Linked DNA regions of Homo sapiens: all the other regions are linked to region 2. Evidence: promoter capture Hi-C in human tissues and cell types (Jung and others, 2019). All regions are on one chromosome and are shown on one strand. The core of a region is centred on a gene start or on the middle of the fragment in contact, and the rest is flanking DNA. Distances in the headings are between cores, read along the strand shown.

Region 1 (3,317 bases), core at 812-3,311, 240 kb before region 2:
GGGCTTTTGGCCAAAGCAGGTACTGAAAAGGCAGGTTAACGGGCCACCTCACTGTCCCCTAAGGGTGGGTAAATCAGGTTAAGATCTACATGCTTACCAATTGGAAACCAGTTGTCCATTTTCCTGTAACTTTTTATTCTCCCAACATTTTTAAGTTTTATTCCAATTTTCTAACTGTTGACTGACCATACATATTTCTAATTAAACCTTAATCCCCAAAGTGGTCAGGGTACAGTCGTCATACTATGATTTTATTGAACTGACACAATATGTTGCCACCAGTAAAACGTATTGAGAAAAAGGTAAAAGCGTTACTGTCAGCTGGTTAAAACTGTTTCCCAACCTGTCCTCAGGGTTAGGGGGGATGCCCAGGTCTCCTGTGCGCAGTTTACGAGTCAGGTCTTCTATCTGCAGTTGCACTGGAAGAAACCAGGTTAGGAAAGAAAAAAAAGGATGGAAAAAAGACAATGTTACCAATAAACATCTCAAATCTCAACAACAAGCATGAAGAACTCGGAGACTTTGAAAGGGACGACTGATCAGTGAACACATTGAAGCAAAAACCCCCAACCACCTATCGGCAGGAGTCCTTTTACATCTATAGGTTTTTTTCACTTCAAAATGGTTATCACTTAAGGAAGCAAACAGTTTGTTGGAAGAGGGGTTAGCAATAAAGACTGTTCACTAAGGCTAACATCCAAGCAATTATTAGGAGGTGTTTCACCTCTTCCTCCCCACCAAGGCTTGCTTACCATTGGTACCCAGAACCATAAACCATGTTACGTCACCAATACCCGACTCCCATCAAATTACTTGAGGGCAAGAATTGAGTTTTTTCTTCATTAAATGTTAAACATAGCCCAAAATGAGACCCAATTAACATGGGACAAGGAAAAATACCAATTGAGCAAAGATCATTTTCATTAATACATTTAAAATTCCTTAAATAAGACATTTAATAACAAAATTCAACACCTTATAGAAATTTGTACATACTCTTTCTGTACAACCAGACCTGTACTAGTAAGGGTCTCCCAATACCTGCAGCTCTTATTCAATTATATGAAATATTTATTCAAATATTAAATGACAAACCACATATCTTAATAAACCAGTAACCATAAAGTGCTAAGAATTTGTTTTCAGGCTCACTGTTCATATGGGGAGCAGGCGTGTAGAAGAATGGAATGTGTGTTCAAGGACAATGTACTTGGCCCTCGGGCCTTGACCAATGAGGCTGTGCATGAAAAAGAGAGATGAGGGTTTCACAAAAGTTGCCAGTGACGCCAGGGAAATGTTACACAGCTGATTTTCCAAGATAATGGGAACTGCAGAGCCAGAGCAGCTTTCTTCAACATGCGGAATAACCACCTGTTCCTTACCTTCGCAGCATCTGAGAATTTTCAGCAGGCATCTCCAATAAGGGCAAATGTTACTAGGTTGGGTTAAAACTGAGCTGGCTCCAAGATAGGATTAATGCGTGTCTAACCAAAGATTCCTTCTAACTTTAAATACATCCACAGGGCTATACCACACCCACACACTAAAACCCTGAAGAAATGAAAACCCATTATTATCGAAAGAAAATACTGGCCGGGCACAGTGGCTCACACCTGTAATCCCAGTACTTTGGGAGGCCAAGGCAGGCAGATCATGAGGACAAGAGATCGAGACCATCCTGGCCAACATGGTGAAACCCCGTCTCTACTAAAACTACAAAAAAAATTAGCTGGGCATGGTGGCGTGCGCCTGTAGTCCCAGCTACTTGGGAGGCTGAGGTGGGAGAATCACTTGAACCCGGGAGACGCAGGTTGCAGTGAGCCGAGATCGCACCACTACACTCCAGCCTGGCGACACAGCAAGACTCAGTCTCTCAAAAAAAAAAAAAAAAAGATATTGAGGGCATCCTGGACAAAGCAGTATGTACCGTGGGAGACAGAAAAGTAGTAAGACACATGGTTCCCCAAGCTCCTTTATGCCTAAAAAGTTCTGACTTTGCAGTTGAGTATTAAGCTCAACAACTCGAGGTGAAAGTCACCTTCACTGAGGGGAGAAGGTGAGTCTTCCTAGCTGACTATGGAGATGTGGGGCCTGATCTAAATAAAAAGGGTCATTCTCTTCTGTGGAGAACTACACCTCTCCTTTGATTCTATTTTGATTATAGCTATAAATAGTCCTTAGGGCCCAGTGAACTAACTAGCCCTCCACAAAAACAGAAATGGAGATATAAAGAATTTGTGCTCTTCCCATCTTCTAAGTATGCTTGTGTTCTTGGGATATCACTCCACTAGGGGCATTTCACAAGGATGTAAAGACCCAGACTAGTCTAATATGAGACACAATGGAATGGGTGGGAGTAGACAGGAACAGTAGGGGAAAGAACAAGTATTAGTAGTACTGTGAAAGGAGACAGACAATTCCAACGCCTCAAAATTCTCAGCAGTCTAAAAAACAGGAAATTAAGACCCTCAAAAGTAGTAACATGCTGGCCTTGAAGCTTTTTGGTTGTGAAGGCCACAGCCTCGTAGGTTTAGGAGGTCTTTGCCCGAATTTCCTCCAAAGGGGATGTTTATTTGGTTAGTAGGAAATGTTTATAAAGTGAACTTTTTTGAGACAGCTGCACAGGTATATAAAGATAAAACTTGCATTAAAAACTTTTTTTTCCAAAAAAGCAATTTTGAGGTTAATTTCAATTCCACTGTGGATAGTCATTAATTCTCAAAACCTCCCAGCAAATAAAACCTTTTTATCCTAGCACTTCATTCCATATCCATGCAATATCCCTTTCCCAGCAGAGTTCTTTAAAAGTAAATACAAGAGCCTTCATTTTAAGACAGCTCTCCATAGACCAAACCAGAAAAGATGTTGAAGGGAAGGTTAAACTCTTAAATTCAAGAAAATAAAAAGGGGTAAATTGTAAACACACTTTCAGAACCACTTTTTGTCATTTTTTTTTTTTCAGAAAGTACCTATAAAAAGTAAAAGACCACATTTTAGGGGGAGAAATATAAAATTATGGTGAAAGGCCACGCTGTGAAAAGTACTTGGTTTACAGTACCTGCGGTGTTCTCCACTGGGGCCTGTCCAGAGAGGCAGATGACACTCACCTCATCAACTGGCAATGAACAGCAGCTGAAAAGGGTGGCTGCTGGACTGGGGACTGTTCTTACTCCTAAGTGAAACCCTACCTTCCTGATACTCATGGAGAACACTGCAGTTACGAACAGACCAAAACAAGGAGCTGCAAATGCAGAACTCACTGGGCAAAAACTGACAGATGATACCAAAGTCGTGAAAGTATCTCATCTCAAAAAAGA
Region 2 (3,267 bases), core at 413-2,912:
CAGTGCCAGAATGTCTGTGGTGCAGGCTCCTAGAAGCAGGATGGCAGGCTCCTACCTCTAGACATTTCTTTTTTTTTTTTTTTTTTTTTTTTGAGACGGAGTCTCACTCTGTCACCCAGTCTGGAGTGCAGTGGCACAATCTCGGCTCACTGCAACCTCCGTCTCCTGGGTTCAAGCAATTCTCTGCCTCAGCCTCCCGAATAGCTGGGATTACAGGTGCCGCCACCACGCCCAGCTAATTTTTTGTATTCTTAGTAGAGACGGGGTTTCACCATGTTGGCCAGGCTGGTCTTGAACTCCTGACCTCGTGATCCACCTGCCTCGGCCTCCCAAAGTGCTGGGTTTACAGGCGTGAGCCATGGCGCCCGGCCAGCATTTCCCATTTTGATCTTAGCTGCATTTCGAAGCCTCTGGGTAGGCGATATGCTCACTTTCTTCCTTGTGTGTGTGTGATGGAGGGTAAATGGTGCTGACCGAAGGGTCCCACTCAGGCAGCCTATCTGTTCAGCCCTCCTCTGACCACAAGCCCCTTTCTGCAAGATGGGAAGCTCCAGCTTCTTCCAGACCTCTCTCTAGGCAAACTTCATGGAGGCATGAAGACATTGTGCTTTACCATTTACTAGACCTGAGTTTGAATCTCACCCATGCTCCTTAAACACTCTGGATTCCATTATCATAGCTACGAAAAGAATATAAACCTCTCAGGGTTGCAGGGAGGATGAAGCTGAACACGTGAAGTGCGTTGCAAACAGTTACACAGGAGTTAGCTATTGTCCTCAGCTGGTGCTGACAGCTCTTTCCCAAGCATGAGAGAGGCTCTTCCGTGCTGCCTATCCACACTTACCTGCAGCAATAAGGCTGTCTCCTGAGTTTACAAAAGGGCTTGGTCCTTGACCTATTTCCTCACTTCTTCTGGACTTCTTGAGCGCTAAAGTAAAGAATGAAACTCTTGGACAAAGCCATTCATTCAACAACAAATATTTATTGAGCACCTACTACATGCCAGCCACTGTGCTAAGCACCATCTGGGCCTCAGTTTTTCCATCTGCAAAAGTAGGAACTGTGCTTCTGAACAGGGAAACGCTGGGCCTCTGGGTGGGGGCAGCCTTTGGGGCGGGACTGCAATTCCGTCATTGGAACCCAGGGACGCCCCGCATGTTTCCGAACGGCCTCCAGGGGGCACCGCCGCCCTGAACTGAGAGCCACCGGAGCCGGGTAGGGGGAGGCCCAACTTTCCGCTCTGTCAGAGGATGATGCCGAGGGCCCAGATGAGCAGGATTTGGACTGTGTTGCTGGGAACGGGGGCCTACACTGGCCCCAGGATGAGTTCGTCCGTACCTGGGGGCCCTGGGTTCTGACTCTCAGGTCAGACGCAGCCAAGATGCAACTCAGGAACTTCAAGGTTTCCGCTCCGGCCAAGAGCCCCAGTCCGGCAGGGGAAAGGGTGGGGGAGTCGCCCTTGCTCCCCCAGCCTCAGCCCTCGGGAGGCGCAGCGTCAGGGCGGGCGGCAGCACAGAAACCCCCCGCGCCGCTAGAGGGACCCTCGCAGCAGCTGCGCGGGCGACCTCGCGGTCACGTGCGGCAAGGGCGGGACCAAACGAGCGTCCGGCCAATCGACTATGCCGTCGGCGAGCGTGATAGCCAACAGGAACCGGGAGCGGGGTCCCGGGACTGGGAAGAAACGGCGGCCGGGAGGGGGCTCCGGGGACCATGGGGCTCCTGACCATTCTGAAGAAGATGAAGCAGAAAGAGCGGGAGCTGCGACTGCTCATGCTGTATCCTACCGGACGCCGGAACCGCGAGGGTGGCGGGGTCCAGCCGGGCAGGCGGTGCCGGGCGCCCCCTGTCGGGAGCGGAACGCGGCGGCCGGCGCGTCCCAACTGCCCCTGGCGTCACCACGCGGGCCCCATCAATCGCCCCGTCGGGCCGGGAGGAGCCGCACCCCAGGACTGGGGCAGGGGCCAGCTCCGAGGGCCGCAGAAGCGGTCCTGCAGGCGCAGCGGCGGGGCTAGGCGGCCCGAGTGTCAGGGGTGGTGGGTCCCGGAGATAACTCGGACGCCACCACCCGGCGGCCTGGCCCAAGCGTGGGGCCGCTGCCCTCCCGGCTCTGATCTCCTCCCCCGGGCCCGAGGGTTCCAGGCCCCGGCCCCGCCCTCGAGCTCCGAATCCCGGGGGCGTGCGGGGTGGCGGGTGGCGCGTGTGGGCTCCGCGGATCCTTTCGAGCGTGGATCCAACAGTCCGTCTCTTTGGTGTTACGCGGCCCGTGGTTGTCCCTGCGGCTGAGGATGTGTGTGTGTGGGCCCGAGTGTCCCGTGCGCCCTGTGCGCCTTCTGAGTCCAGTTAGGCGCCCGCACCTGTTCCCCCAGCTCTGTGCCAGGCTCCGCGGGGGAATGGCTGGGGAGATAAGACGCTTACGTGCACATATAACTTAATAATCACATCATGACTGTTTTGTTTTTTGAGACAGGGTCTTGCTCTGTTGCCCTGGCTGGAGTGCAGTGGCACAATCAAGGCTCACCGCAGCCTCCAGCTTCTAGGCTTAAGTGATCCTCCTGCCTCAGCCTCCCAAAACTCTGGGAATATAGGCATGAGCCACGGAGTCCGGCCCATGTCTGTTTTATTTTGTTTTGTTTGAGACGGAGTTTCGCTCTTGTTGCCCAGGCTGGAGTGCAGTGGCACAATCTCAGCTCGCTGCAACCTCCGCCCCCCGAGTTCAAGCAATTCTCCTGCCTCAGCCTCCCAAGTAGCTGGGATTACAGGTGCCCGCCACCACGCCCGGCTATTTTTTTAAATATTGTTAGTAGAGACGGGGTTTCACCTTGTTGGTCAGGCTGTTCTCGAATTCCTGACCTCAAGTGATCCACCCGCCTTGGCCTCCCAAACTGTTGGGATTATGGGCGTGAGCCACTGCGCCGGGCCGCATGTCTGCTTTAAAGAGCTCTAAGAAAAGCATACAGTTCACTCATTTGATAAATATTGAGTGCCTAATATGTGCTAGACACTGTCCTAGTGCCCAGGGTAATAAAACTAAAAAATCTTACCTTCATGGAAATTCTGTAATGCGTGTGTGTGTGTGTGGCGGGGGGGTTGCCCGCGGGTAGAAAGATGATAACACAGGAAGTAAGTAAAATATGTAATAGAGGCTGGGTGCGGTGGCACACACCTGTAACCCTAGCACTTTGGGAGGCTGAGGTGGGAGGTTCGCTTGAGCCCAGGTGTTTGAGACCAGCCTGGGCAACATAGTGAGACTCTGTCTCTATTTATACA
Region 3 (3,284 bases), core at 479-2,978, 160 kb after region 2:
TTGAGGTCAGGAGTTCAAAAACAGCCTGGCCAACATGGTGAAACCCCTTTGCTACTAAAAATACAGAAACTAGCCAGGCATGGTGGCAGGTGCCTATAATCCCAGCTACTCGGGACGCCAAGGTGGGAGAATTGCTTGAACTGTGGAGGCGGAGGTTACAGCGAGTTGAGATCATGCCACTGCACTCCAGCCTGGACGACAGAGTGAGACTCTGTCTCAAAAAAAAAAAAAAAAAAGGCCAGGAACATATTGGGAAACAAAACTTGAATGGAAGACAGCTCTTTATTTAGTCTAGAAATGCCTTCAGGGCCAGGTTTACTTAGGAATAAGACTTGATCCCTTCCTTGAGCTACAGTCAAATATAATATTGTAATTATAATAAACAACCCCCCTCCCCCAAGAGACATGAGGACTCAAAAGGGTTAATTTCTTTTTTTCTTTCTTTTTTTTTTTTTTCACATCACTCCTTTATTATACTGATCTGGAAAAAGATTTAGTACAGTTATGCTCAGATGAACACTGGACCCATGTGGCAGGGCCAAGCAAGTAGAACATGATTCAGAAATCAGTGAAAGACATACTTGGACAGGACCAAGAGGCATTTCACTGTCACGAAACAAGGCAGGAAGGGATTGTAATACCCACACCAGGAAGCACTCCTGCCCCTCAGAGGTCAAGGAGCTGATCCTATATTGGTATGAGGAATGGCTTATTTTCTGATGACTACATGTGGGACTATTTCAACCGCCACGAGAAACCCCAGAAGGGTTATTGTTTTGTATTATTTATATATACTATACTTCTTAAATTAAATGTAACACATAACTAAATTCAGGATTGATCCCAACCTTCTAGAGCCAGCTCCTCTGGCGTCAGGGAGGAAACAGTTGTCACATCACCATGCAGGTTACATTCATCTTCCACTGGAATGACTAGAGCCCTCAGGCAGTGGCCTGACTGCAGACGAGCAGAGGACTGGCTCCTGGGGACAGACAGGCTCTGTTGCTTCTCCTCATTGGTCATGGCTTAGCATGGTTCCTCCCCACAAGTCCTTAGTAAACAAAGCAACTCGCAAAAACCCAAGTCACTACTTTTAAACTCTGTTGGATAAGGGGAGCTTTTCCACAGCTTGGACTGAGAACCTGTGCTCTAGAAGTGCTATTCTGACTAGATTGTATGAAGGGAGTGGGTGCAGGAGACAAAATGGCTAAAATGAAAATGGGAGTCACTGGTCCCCATCTGCAGCTACAACTCAAGATGTCTACAGATGGGGTCAGTGTGACATGTGCAGGTGGGAGGGGCAGAGGGACAAGACAGGCAGGGAGGGTGCTCCTGGGAACAGTATCCTCCCTGCTGGCCTTCACTTCTTGGCCTTGCCCTGGGCAGCCACAGCTTCCATGGCTTTGCGTACCATCTCTTCATCCCCCAGAAACTGCATGGGCTTGATAGGCTTCAAGTTCTTGTCCCATTCATAGACAATGGGAATACCAGTCGGCAGGTTCAGCTCCATGATAGCCTCTTCAGAGAGACCCTCCAGATGCTTGGCAATGCCCCGGAGGCTGTTGCCATGGGCTGCAATCAGTACACGTTTCCCCTCCTTGATCTGGGGAACTATTTCTTCATTCCAGAAGGTCAGAGCTCTGGCAATAGTGTCCTTCAGACTCTCACAGGAGGGTAGCAGATCTTCTGTGAGGTCTGCATACCTGCGATCCTTACTGATGTTGCTATAGAAAGGATGGTTGGGCTCCATTGGAGGTGGTGGGACATCATAGGAGTGCCTCCAGATCTTCACCTGGGCCTCACCATGCTTTGCAGCAACCTCCGCCTCCCTGGTTCAAGCGATTCTCCTGCCTCAGCCTCCTGAGTAGCTGGGATTACAGATGTGCGTCACCACGCCCGGCTAATTTTTTTTTTGTATTTTTAGTAGCAACGGGGTTTCATCATGTTGGTCAGGCTGATCTTGACCTCCTGACCTCGTGATCTGCCTGCCTCGGCCTCCCAAAGTGCTGGGATTACAGGCGTGAGCCACCGCACCCAGCCGTGAGGTGCCAGATTTTTATCTTTGCCAAACTGCTAAGTGGGAAACAGTCTCTTGGTGAAATTTTAATTCACATTTGCTTTTCAGTGAGCTCAACATCTTGTCATATGTTTAAGACCTATTTGTCTTCTTTTATTTGTGAACTTTTTTTTTTTGAGACAGGGTCTTGCTTTGTCATCCAGGCTGGAATACAGTGGTGCGATCACAGCTCACTGCAGCCTCGACCTCTGGGATAGCTGGGACTACAGGCCACCATGCCCAGCTAACTTTTTGTATTTTTGGTACAGACAGGGTCTCACCGTATTGTCCAGGCTGATCTCGAACTCCTGGGCTTAAGCGATCCACCCACTTTGGCCTCCCAAAGTGCTGGGATTTACTTTTATTTTATTCTTAGAGACAGCATCTTGCTCTATTGCCCAGGCTGGAGGGAAGTGGCACAATCATAGCTCACTGCAGCCTCCAACTGCTGGGCTCAAGCCACCCTCCCATCTCAGCCTCTGGAGTAGCTGGGATGACAGGCATGCACCACCACACCTGGCTAATTTTCTAATTTTTTTATAGATGGGGTCTCATTATGTTGCCCAGGCTAGTCTCAAACTCCTAGCCTCAATCAATCCTCCTGTCTAGGCCTCCCAAAGTGTTAGGATTATAGGAATGAGCGACCACACCCAGAACATGATTTTTTATATATGTATATGGAGAAAAATACTCCTTTAAGATGTTAATTGTAAATGTTTTCTTCAGTCCATCATTTTGACATAACTGTATGGATTTTTAATGTAGTAAAAAATGCAATTTTATGACTTTTGGGTTTTGTGTCATAGTTAAAAAGACTGTTTCCACACTGAGATGATACAAAAAGTTTCTCCTTTAGCTCCTGGCTGTATTTTTTTTTTTTTTTTTTTGAGATGGAGTTTTGCTCTTGTTGCCCAGGCTGGAGTGCAATGGTGCGATCTCCACTCACCGCAACCTCCGCCTCCATCTCCCGGGTTCAAGCAATTCTTGTGCCTCAGTCTCCCAAGTAGCTGGGATTGCTGGTGTGTGCCACCATGCCCAGCTGATTTTTGTATATTTAGTAGAGATAGGGTTTCACGATGTTGGCCAGGCTGGTCTTGAACACCTGACCTCAAGTGATCCACCCACCTCAGCCTCCCAAAGTGCTAGGATTACAGGCATGAGCCACCGTGCCCAGCCAGCTTCTGGCTGTATTTTCGTTTTCATTTTTGTACGTTTAAATATTGAAGGT

Evidence for each region. Contacts are between HindIII fragments. The study calls those that stand out against the background at their distance.
Region 1: a fragment that was not itself captured here is called in contact with the fragment with the promoter of ARL2 in region 2 in 1 of the 25 tissues and cell types used here (liver).
Region 3: a contact is called between a fragment that was not itself captured here and the fragment with the promoter of ARL2 in region 2, in 1 of the 25 tissues and cell types used here (aorta).

Annotation. Positions count from the first base shown.
Region 1 is chr11:64,773,087-64,776,403 of GRCh38, forward strand. It overlaps SF1 (splicing factor 1), which reads right to left. Exons shown (of 13, transcript NM_004630.4): 3 at 344-419. Among named protein-coding and RNA genes, the nearest start is that of SF1, 3.8 kb to the right of the region's middle. The HindIII fragment of the contact is 3,858 bases long and covers 133-3,317 here.
Region 2 is chr11:65,012,498-65,015,764 of GRCh38, forward strand. It overlaps ARL2 (ARF like GTPase 2), which reads left to right and starts at 1,663. Exons shown (of 5, transcript NM_001667.4): 1 at 1,663-1,775. The coding sequence starts at 1,711. It overlaps ARL2-SNX15 (ARL2-SNX15 readthrough (NMD candidate)), which reads left to right and starts at 1,663. Exons shown (of 11, transcript NR_037650.2): 1 at 1,663-1,775. RefSeq lists a silencer at 1,510-2,269. The HindIII fragment of the contact is 13,144 bases long and covers 1-3,267 here.
Region 3 is chr11:65,173,675-65,176,958 of GRCh38, forward strand. It overlaps the pseudogene PGAM1P8. Among named protein-coding and RNA genes, the nearest start is that of SPDYC, 5.1 kb to the left of the region's middle. The HindIII fragment of the contact is 8,198 bases long and covers 1-3,284 here.